2 separate regions of the Homo sapiens genome follow, and region 2 is linked to region 1. Evidence: promoter capture Hi-C in human tissues and cell types (Jung and others, 2019). All regions are on one chromosome and are shown on one strand. The core of a region is centred on a gene start or on the middle of the fragment in contact, and the rest is flanking DNA. Distances in the headings are between cores, read along the strand shown. Region 1 holds the start of VWA5B2 (von Willebrand factor A domain containing 5B2). Region 2 overlaps POLR2H (RNA polymerase II, I and III subunit H).

The links. The method cuts DNA at HindIII sites, captures the fragments that hold promoters and counts their contacts. A contact is called where the count stands out against the background at its distance.
Region 2: a contact is called between a fragment that was not itself captured here and the fragment with the promoter of VWA5B2 in region 1, in 1 of the 25 tissues and cell types used here (dorsolateral prefrontal cortex).

What each region holds. Positions count from the first base shown.
Region 1 is chr3:184,227,886-184,234,109 of GRCh38, reverse strand. VWA5B2 (von Willebrand factor A domain containing 5B2) reads right to left here and starts at 4,525. Exons shown (of 20, transcript NM_001390846.1): 1 at 4,397-4,525; 2 at 3,443-3,730; 3 at 3,193-3,363; 4 at 713-932; 5 at 377-534. The coding sequence starts at 3,581. RefSeq lists a silencer at 4,418-4,757. The HindIII fragment of the contact is 9,993 bases long and covers 1-6,224 here.
Region 2 is chr3:184,368,425-184,371,702 of GRCh38, reverse strand. POLR2H (RNA polymerase II, I and III subunit H) reads right to left here. Exons shown (of 6, transcript NM_006232.5): 6 at 3,112-3,278. Among named protein-coding and RNA genes, the nearest start is that of THPO, 8.1 kb to the left of the region's middle. The HindIII fragment of the contact is 4,081 bases long and covers 1-3,278 here.

The sequences.
Region 1 (6,224 bases), core at 3,276-5,775:
GGGAAGTAGATTCCAGCAGGGTTTCTGGCTGGTCGAAGAGTCATGCATCAGCCAGGTGCTGATTTAGCATTCACCCCCCACCTTCTGTGTAAGGAAAACCTACTTCATCACAGGTACTAGTCCCATTGTAAGTATCTCTCTTCCCACTGCTGGGTGGGATGAGATATAAATAAATTACCTTGATAAAATTGGGGTGTGTGTGTTGGGTAGAGGTGACCAGGGGATGCTCCCACCACTAACCCAGATGTTCCGGAGGCTGGGGTCCCTGTCTTTTTGTCCTGTGTCCCTCCTATCCCTGAGCCTTATTTCCCTTCCAGTCACTACACTGGGTGGAGTGGGCATCTGAAAAGAGGGCAGGCCAGCCAGATGCACCCACCTGCAAGCAGGCATGGCCCAGTCACCAGCATCTCGAAGGAGAAGGTATATGGGGCAGGGCAGCGGGCAGGGCCTGAGAACACGTCCCGAGGGGCAGCCAGCTCCTCCCAGGCCAGCCCTTCCTCCTGAAGGCTGCCCACCCCGAAGCAGCTGGTGGGGCTGGAAGGGAGCATGAGGAGGGTCACTGGGCCACTGTGAAGGCCCCTAAACCCTCCGGCTGACTGGCCCCAGCCCTTCCTCACCCTTCCCATCCCTGGGTACCCTGCCAGTGCCCCCTCACCCGCACTAGACCCAGAGAAGCCGAGGGAGGGACGAAGAGAATCACCATAGGCCCAACCTGTCGTCACAGAGCCCCGGAGGCCTGGGGGGCCCCGGCGGGCCTGGCGGGGCCAGCGGGGTGAGCACAGTGGGCAGGGCCACATGCAGCACCCCGTCAGGCCTTGAGGGCAGCTCCCGGCTGCTGTGCAGGGTCACCGTCATGGTGCCAGCCGCGGCGATAATGCCTGTGGGCAGCACCAACGTGGACCGGGCCTGGGCCAGATCCAAGACAAGATGACCTATGATGGGTGAGAAATGGGGTCAGAGCATGCTGGAAGCAGAGGAGAGGGAGGAAGCTAGATGTGGAAGCAGGCATTGGGTCAGGGAGCCTGGGCAAGGGGGACTTTGCGTGTTGGCACTAGGCTAATGCATTGGTGACGCAGGATGGAGGCATGAGATGAATGATGGCAGGAGAGGCAGACTAACTGTGAACAGATCTGGCTGTCATCAGGCAAGAGCAGCAGTGACATCCTTGCTAATGGAAGGCTGAGGAGAAGGGGCCATGTCCACTCTCAAGGCCCTGGGAATACCCACACCCTCTGCCCCTCTCCCCCTGCCTGCCTCTTTCCATTCAACCCTTGGCCACCATCCCTTGTGGATAGACATCTCCCTGTGGCCTGGGACCCCACTCTGCTCATAAATTTCCTGCTCCTGAACCATCAGGAGCTCCCCCATTGCCCACTAAGGTGGCTCCAGAATTCTCTACTCCTCCCGGGCAGGAGGAATAGAGAAGCAGGAAGCAGGCTGGAGGACATAAAGCTCCATTTGCACACTGCACACACTGTTTTATTTAGCTCCTAGGTTTGTTTGGGGACTGGTGGGGCTGCTAAAGGAATAATGACCAGCCATGTACAGTGGCAGCTGTGTACACCACCGACGTGGTCTGGCCCCAGCCCACGTTCACAGCCCTACTGTACCTCACTTCCTCACAATGACCAATTGTTCATCCTTTCAATAAATACTTGCTGAATAACTGAAGGGAAGAAAAAGATGGAAGGAAAGAAAGAAAGGGGCTTCCATCCCAGCCAACCGACACAGTGGAGACAGCACAGCATCAAGTTTTAAATATCAGCTCGGTGACCTCTAATTGAGTCCTTTGGCAGCTCTCTTGTTCTGAGGAGCCTGTTTCCTCATCCATAAAGTGGGGATCATAATAACTCTGTGATTGTGGTGAGGAACAAATGAGGCAATGTATGCAAAGCACCCAACATATAAGTCAGTGACCCCTGCTATGACTTTCATCCCCCATAACAGGAGGAAGGGGGATTATCCCCCTTCCATCCCCCATAACAGGAAGAAGCCTGCATTACCCACTACTTGGGATTCAAATGAGGTGATACTAGCGATTGTAAACTGTAAATCACTATAAACATGAGATATTTTATTGTCATTACCCACTGTAACCTACTTATAAGCATTTGCTTATACTGTTGCCCCTACCTTCCACTTAACTGAGTCCTACCCTTTCTTGCAGTCAAATGCTGGCTCTACCTCCTTCTGGAACATTCCTGGGGCCTCAGCCCAGAGCTCACTCTAGCCTCTAACCACAAGCCCCTAACGTGCTGGGCTTATGCCAGCTCTCAACACCACTGGATTCTGTTCCTCTTCTTCTTACCTGGATTGCAAATCCCCTGGGCAGGAATCAAAGCCATGTATGAATGAATCAATGAAAGAACCAGGTGCAAGCACAGCACACAGCACAGGGCTGGGCTTCTGTCCCTTCCCCGGGCACTCGCTGGGCCTCATAGTGCCAGGTTCTGTGTGAGGTGCTGGGATTTGGAGATGCTCCAGCGGGGAGACAGACAGGCAGATCTGTGACAATGACTCCCCCTGTAAGTGCCATAACGAGGGGGCACAAAAGGCTGGGGAGCCAGGAAACAGTGCAGCTATTTGTGGGAGAGTCAGGGAGGGTTTCCCTAGGAATGACGTTTAGTGGATCTTAAAGGACAAGTAGGAATTTGCTCAATAGAAGATGGAAAGACAGAGCAGAGAGTTGGGAAAGGACCTGTCAGTCAGTGTGGCCAGCGGCAGCGGTACCTGGTGTATGGGGTCGCTGGGAGAGGGATGGAATGGGGTGAGAGCGAGGGCCTTGGCTGCTAGGCACAGGAGTCTACACTTGATTCACTGGCCCACGCGGGGCCGGATTGAGGTGTGCAGCCTAAAATAGTAAGGGGCCGGAGGGGACCACCAGGGGAGAAGGCTCCCTTTGCAGCCCCCTAGAGAGACCGGTCTCCTGGGCTGTAAGGGTTGCTGGCGCCCCCGCAAGCCCTGTGCTGCCTGCTGTGTCTGTCTCCCAGGCTGTGAACCTCCGGGCCATGTTCTCCCAGCACCTGGCGCAGGTCAGGTGCCCAGCCCACGACTGCTAAATACCAGGATGAGCCAATGAATGCACAAGGCAGTGCCCGGAGGAAGGCGGGGGACGGGCGGAGGCCGAGCGGATGCGGGAGCCTGAGCTGCGCCCGGCTTTCAGGAGCGCGGGTGCGGGCGCGCGGAACTCACCCTGCGCGCAGCGGCGGGGCGTCGGGGTCCCCAGCCCCGGGCCCAGAGCGCGGCAGCAGGCGGCCTGCGAGCGGCGCCGGCTCTGCAGCTGGAAGGAGACGCGCCGTCCGGCGGCCTCGGCCTCGAAGCCGGACACCACCTCGGCCTCGGCCAGCGGGTACACGAACACGCCTGGGGAGGGCGGCGGGAGGCGGCGTCGGACCCTGCCCGGCGCACCCCCCGCCGCGCCCGCGCCCCACCCGGGCCTCACCGTCCACCGGCTGCGGCTGCGGGTTGCGGTAGGTGAGCCGGGCCCGCACGCTGAGGCAGGGGCCGTTGGCGCAGGCCCGGACCCAGGAGTCCGTGAGCGGCAGCGGCGTCCAGCTGGAGGGGCAGTACAGGCCGGGCATGGCGCCGGGAGGCCGGCCCTGCGGGAACGGGCCGGGGAAGCTGGGCGCAGGGTGACGGGACGCCCACCCCGCGCTCCAGAGGCCAGCGCGAGAGTCTCACTCCAGCACCCGGACGGGGCCTGCCGGGGCGCGAGGCCGAGCGGGAGCTCCTGAGGGCGACAGGTGGCGGGGGAGATAAGGGGGCGGCAGGCGTGGTGGCGAGGAGGGCATCCTCACGCGTTACCTGGGCAGCCGGGCCGCGGAGGGTTAATGATTAACGCGCGCTTCGGCGCCCAGCAGTCCCGCCGCGGCTCCCCCGGGGGTGGGGGCGGTCACAGCTGTTCCACCGCCCACTCCCAACCTCGCAGCCACCCCCGTACCTGCCGGCCCCCCGGGGCCCCCCGCGGCCGCCAGCTGTCGGAAGCGGCGCGGGTGGAGATGGAAGATGCTCCGGGAAGGCGGAGGTTTAAAGGGCCCGAATCCCCCCGGAGGCCCCCGGCCCTGCGAGGGATCGCGGGGGCAGGGTGGATGGGGCGCCGAAAGGGCCTTGGTCTTTCTCTCCCTGGTGCCTCATCCGACGGGGGTGCTGGCCGGAGTGGAGGGGTTAAGGGTGGGAAGAACGAGCTGGGAAAGCGAAAAGAGGGGGTCTTTGGGAGGCAAGCCCGGGAGAGGTGTCGGGCCAGGGAGAGTCCGTGGGAGCCGCCAGGTTACCGCTCCCTACCCCGGCAGAGCTGATGTGGGAGGAGGGGGCACCTGCAGTGGCCGCGGCCCGCGCAGGGGATGCCGCGGGCTGGCTCTGGGGATCGCCCCGCTCCCTGTGGCAGTCTCAGCCTCACCGTCGCGCCCTCCGCGGAGTTCTAGGTGCCCACGGGATCCGTGTGGGTGGTGCCGCCTCTGCGCTCCGGGTGGCCCTCGGTCCCGGCACCTGCCGGCCGCCAGTTCGTGACTGTGGCTGCAGCGGCTCTGAGTCCCGGCAGGGGCGCGGGCCCTGCCGGCGGTGGTCCCGCCCCCGTTCCGAGAGGCCGCCCCTCCAGCCTGCCCTGGCCACGCCTGCTGCTGCTGCGGCGGGGCTGGCGCTCCCCCCTCCTTCGGGCGCGGTACCGCCTCCGCGCCAGCCGCGGCAGCCCGAGCCAGACTGGGCACCGCAGTGCAGGGACCGCGTCCCCGCCGCCGCACGGATCCCCGTCACTGCAGGACCGAGGCCTCAGAGACCCCACCCTTTCCATTCTTCAGGAATCAGGCGTCCTGCAAGTGCCACCGACACTGCCGCGACCCCAGCTATCCCATTACCACGACGGCATCCCATTCCCCAGCCCACCCCACCCCCTGCCCTGGGTTGCTTCCCATCGCTGCAGAGACCCTCCCTCCTGACTGCAGCGAACCCCCCAGCCCCCCATCACCGTCACCGCAGGACTCTTCCCCCAAGAAGCTGGCCCCTTTCCTTTGCAAAGTGCTCTTCATCACTGCAGAAAACCTCCCCCATCCCTGCAGGTACTTTTAGTTCATGCAGCCACTTCAGTGACCACTCACTCCAAGCAGGGATTCCTCATCACTGCAGCGACCTCCTCCCACCCCCAAGCAGCCGGCCTTGGCATCGCTGCAGTGCCAACCACTTCTGCTGGGGTGGGAGGGTGTGCACAATAGCGCCCTCAGCCTATAACCCCTTGGTCTCTTCAGCTGTGCGGGCCTTGGGAGTGAAGCCTTCTAGCCTGAAGAGCCTTCTTATGGCTGCAGACCGTCCCCTCATAGCAGTGACCCCCACCCATCACCGCAGCCCTGAAGAGAAAACATCTCTGCTTGTCAGGAGGGCCCCTTGTTATTGGCAGACTTTGCATGTGCTTGACAGTGTTATGCTGTCAAAAAGTAGGAAGGTCCGGAAAACCTCTCCCAGGTCCCCCAAGGAAGAGTCTGAGAGCCCTGGGGAAGTGAGAGGAGATGACCATGTTTGGGGATCATCCATGTAAGCTTTTTGGCAGATGCCATACTGAGATTCTGCAGAGAGAGCTTGAGGAGAGCTGGGGATGGAGGACAGCCAGTAGGAAGTGAGCTTTCGAGTCGGGCCCATGGTTCTCACTCCTCCGCATTAACTCTCTCCTTCTGATTTCAATCACTATCACCAGGGATCATCCCCCCGGGGGATCCCTGCCTCCTTGAGTATCTGAGCCCTCAACCCCAACCATCTCCTTTGCTCACCCTACTTAGCATGGTGGAGAGAGCTTGACCTTTTCCCAGGGAATTTCATGGGTGGAAATGCACAGGAATGATACAGGGAGCACAGACACAGTCACACGTACCCAACACACAGGGAGCTCCAGCTGGGTCCTAGCCCTCTTTCCATACTACCTGGGTCATGGTTCCATTCACCTCTCTCCCCCTTTCTCTACTGAGTCTGTTCTCAGCTTCATCCTGAACGAGGGTCCCTCTTTCAGGCCTAGGGAGAAACAGTGGATGGGCTGATGGTCCCTCCAGGTGATCCAGGGCCTCAGGTAGGACCAGCCCTGGCCCTGAGGGCCTCACAAAGGTCCAGGCAGTGGCCACCTTTCCACAAGCACCTTGTGCTCTGCCCCTTCTACAAATGAACCAAGAGCTACATGTAGCCCTTGGACAAACATGAGGTTGCAAATAGCAGTCATTAGGGAGGTCTCCGACACATGGAAATGGAAA
Region 2 (3,278 bases), core at 779-3,278, 140 kb before region 1:
AGTGCAGGAAGTGGCATGAGTCAGGCTCCTTGAGCTCACACAGCAGGAGAACAAGTACAAGTCAAGTACAAGTTGAAGGCTCATTTCCCAGTTCCCGCAAATGCATCTAAAAAGCAGCTCTGTGTGACCACCATAAACTCTGCTAGGGGATCTCTAAAAAGGAGTCAGGCTTATGGGGCTTTGCAAATAAGTGCTGCCTTGGTGCTCAGGAAAAGGTTTGTGTTGCACAAAAACACAAATTCCACTGCAAAAATCAACCTGCTACCTCCAGAGGTTCCTGTAGGAAAACTAGTGGAAGCTTCTTCCTCTCCCCGACCCCTGAGGAAGGAAAGGCTACCACGGAGGTAGAGGAGCCAGGAACCCAGAAACCCAAACACTGCCACAAATACCCCAGGGTCACCAAAGGCATTCCAAAGCAGCAGAATGAAAGGCAATGTGCTAGGAACCTCGTGTACTTTACCTTTTGTAACATTCACACAACTCTGTAAGGTAGGTATTATCTTTTCTGTTTTAGAGATGAGGAAACTGAGGCTCAGAGAAGCCAGGTGAGTTATCAGTGGTTACACGCCCTGTGGGCAGGAGAAGAAACACCCTAGTCTGACCTCACTCTAGGGTCCATACTCTCTCCAGTGTGGTACACTGTCCTATATGTCATTTAATGATTCTGTTTACTGGGAAAGACATACAAGTCCTTAAGGAGTAACAGTTAGAGTTTTGAGGCCGGGCGCGGTGGCTCACGCCTGTAATCCCAGCACTTTGGGAGGCCAAGGCAGGCGGATCACAAGGTCAGGAGATCAAGGCCATCCTGGCCAACACGGTGAAACCCTGCCTTTACTAAAAATATGAAAAATTAGCCGAGTGTGGTGGCAAGCGCCTGTAGTCTTGAACCCGGGAGATGGAGGTTGCAGTGAGCCAAGATCGCGCCACTGCACTCCAGCCTGGGCAACAGAGTGAGACTCCATCTCAAAAAAAAAAAAGAGTTCTGAGTAGAAAACCAAAGTTCTTAGTGGAGGTGACCAATTTAGACATCTTCCCATGTCCCTCTCTCCCTTCACGGACAGAATAGTTTTCCTAGAGAAGGAATCAACAAATGCACAAAGCTCAAAAATGTTGTCCAAATCTCAAATGCTGTCAGTTTCTGCATGGAAGAGAAGTAGTTCATTCATACTACAAATTCCAGCATGCAGTCAAGGGAATGTTAAGTGGAAACTAACTTACTGACATATTGAGCTGGGTTAAATTTAATAATCAAATGAAACACTTTATAGCACATGAAAGTGCCAGCACCTAGGACACGATACACCAATAGAACCAGAGAATGATGGGTTCCCAGCACAGACAGATGAGAGACAAGAATGGCAAAACTTTAGGGCCAGGTATGGTGGCTCACACCCAGCACTTTGGGAGGCCGAGGCAGGCGGATCACCTGAGGTCGGGAGTTCGAGACCAGCCTGACCAACATGGAGAAACTCCATCTCTACTAAAAAATACAAAATTAGCTGGGCATGGTGGTGCATCACCTGAGGTTGGGAGTTTGAGACTGGCCTGACCAACATGGAGAAACCTCGTCTCTACTAAAAATACAAAATTAGCTGAGCATGGTGGCACATGCCTGTAATCCCAGCTACTCGGAAGGCTGGGGCAGGAGAATCGCTTGAACCCGGGAGGCAGAAGTTGTGGTGAGCCGAGATCGCGCCATTGCACTCCAGCCTGGACAACAAGAGCGAAACTCCATTTCAAAAAAAAGAAAAAAAGAAATAGAATGTCAAAACTGCAAATGTCACCAGAAACTTCCAGGCATCTGGTATTGGTATGTGACTTACTCCACTTGTGGGCAAATGCGAGTAACTCATGGGCTTCTCCAGTGTGAACTTACCTGCCCTATTACAAATCTAACCCATTCCCAAATCAGTCTGGTTGGTCCCATCCCTTCTTCCCACTAACACAAAAAAACAATTACAACCAGAACACTCCTATCCCTATTCAATGCTCTACCAGTTCTCTTTCTTCTGCTACCCCAAGACCGCCAGGACAGTCTATGATAACCTACACACTATTACTTGTAATTCGTTTGTCTCACTCTCATTTGTCGTTCTCCAACCCCACAAAAAAACCCACCCCATGGAAAGGTTCTAGGATTTCATAAAAATTCATCCCAACTCCCTCCCCCTACTCTACCCATAGTAAGGTAAAAGAAACACCTCTTCCTCCTCCCTGCTGAGGCCATTCATTTTCAACCCATTTCCCTAAATACTATTTCTAACACCTCACATGAAGATCCGAAAATGATGGGGAAGGAAATACCCCAGGTATCCCAGCAGGGGACCAGCTCCCAGGCAAAACCAGATCAAACAGACAACTGTTTAATGCACAGAGAATCTTTTTGGATTGTTACCCTAAACTTCCTAGGGGAAAACAGAACCCCATATGCTTTCCTAGAGACCTCTAATGCCAAGCTGAAGAGCCAGCTCACATGCTGGAGCCCTTATCATAGCCATTTCCTTAATGTTTTTTCTTCCCCTACTCATAAGTTAGTGACTGTAGTCAGGCCGCTACATGGTCCTGGCACTGGCCCTGGCTCTGGCCTGCCAACTTCATTGGTATTGCTGCCCTGTCCACTTCCACTTACCCTCCCTCCCAGGTCACCACTGGAATGTAGAGCAGAGAGCCAGCTCCTCCAGCTGCTTCCAGAACCACCAAGTCCTCTCGTCCTACTCTCTTCATAGTCATCTCCCATGCCTGTAGCTAAAAGCCTCTACCCAAAGCTTCCATAAAAATAATGAACATTTCTAGACTATGCAAGTGACTCATTCAAGTCAGCATGAACTGACTTCCTAAGAGACTGAAAGTGTTGGAAGGACATGAGCAGGGCTCCTTGCCAATTCAAAATTCTGCGCCAAATGGGTGGTATCTTCTGGGCCTGGGGTACCCTCAGGAGCCAAAAGCACAACTCTCTCCCAGACTGAAAACCACACTGGAGGATAAATGTTGAGAACAGTCAGCCAGGAGACTGAGATAACCCTGAACCCAGATACCAAAAGGCTGGAATAGATCCTACATTGACAAGTGATCAGCTGGCTGTGGGCCAGAAACAATACACCACAGACAAACTGGAAAAAACGATTTTACAGTAAATGGACTTTTTACAAAAAGGGGAGGGGCAGTCTGAAAAAGTAAAGTTTAATTTAAAAATCATATACATAAAGCTTCTGATTCATTTTCAGCTCTCCCACTGTGTCTTTCACAGGCGAGTCAGTTTCCCATTGAGTGGAGGCCAG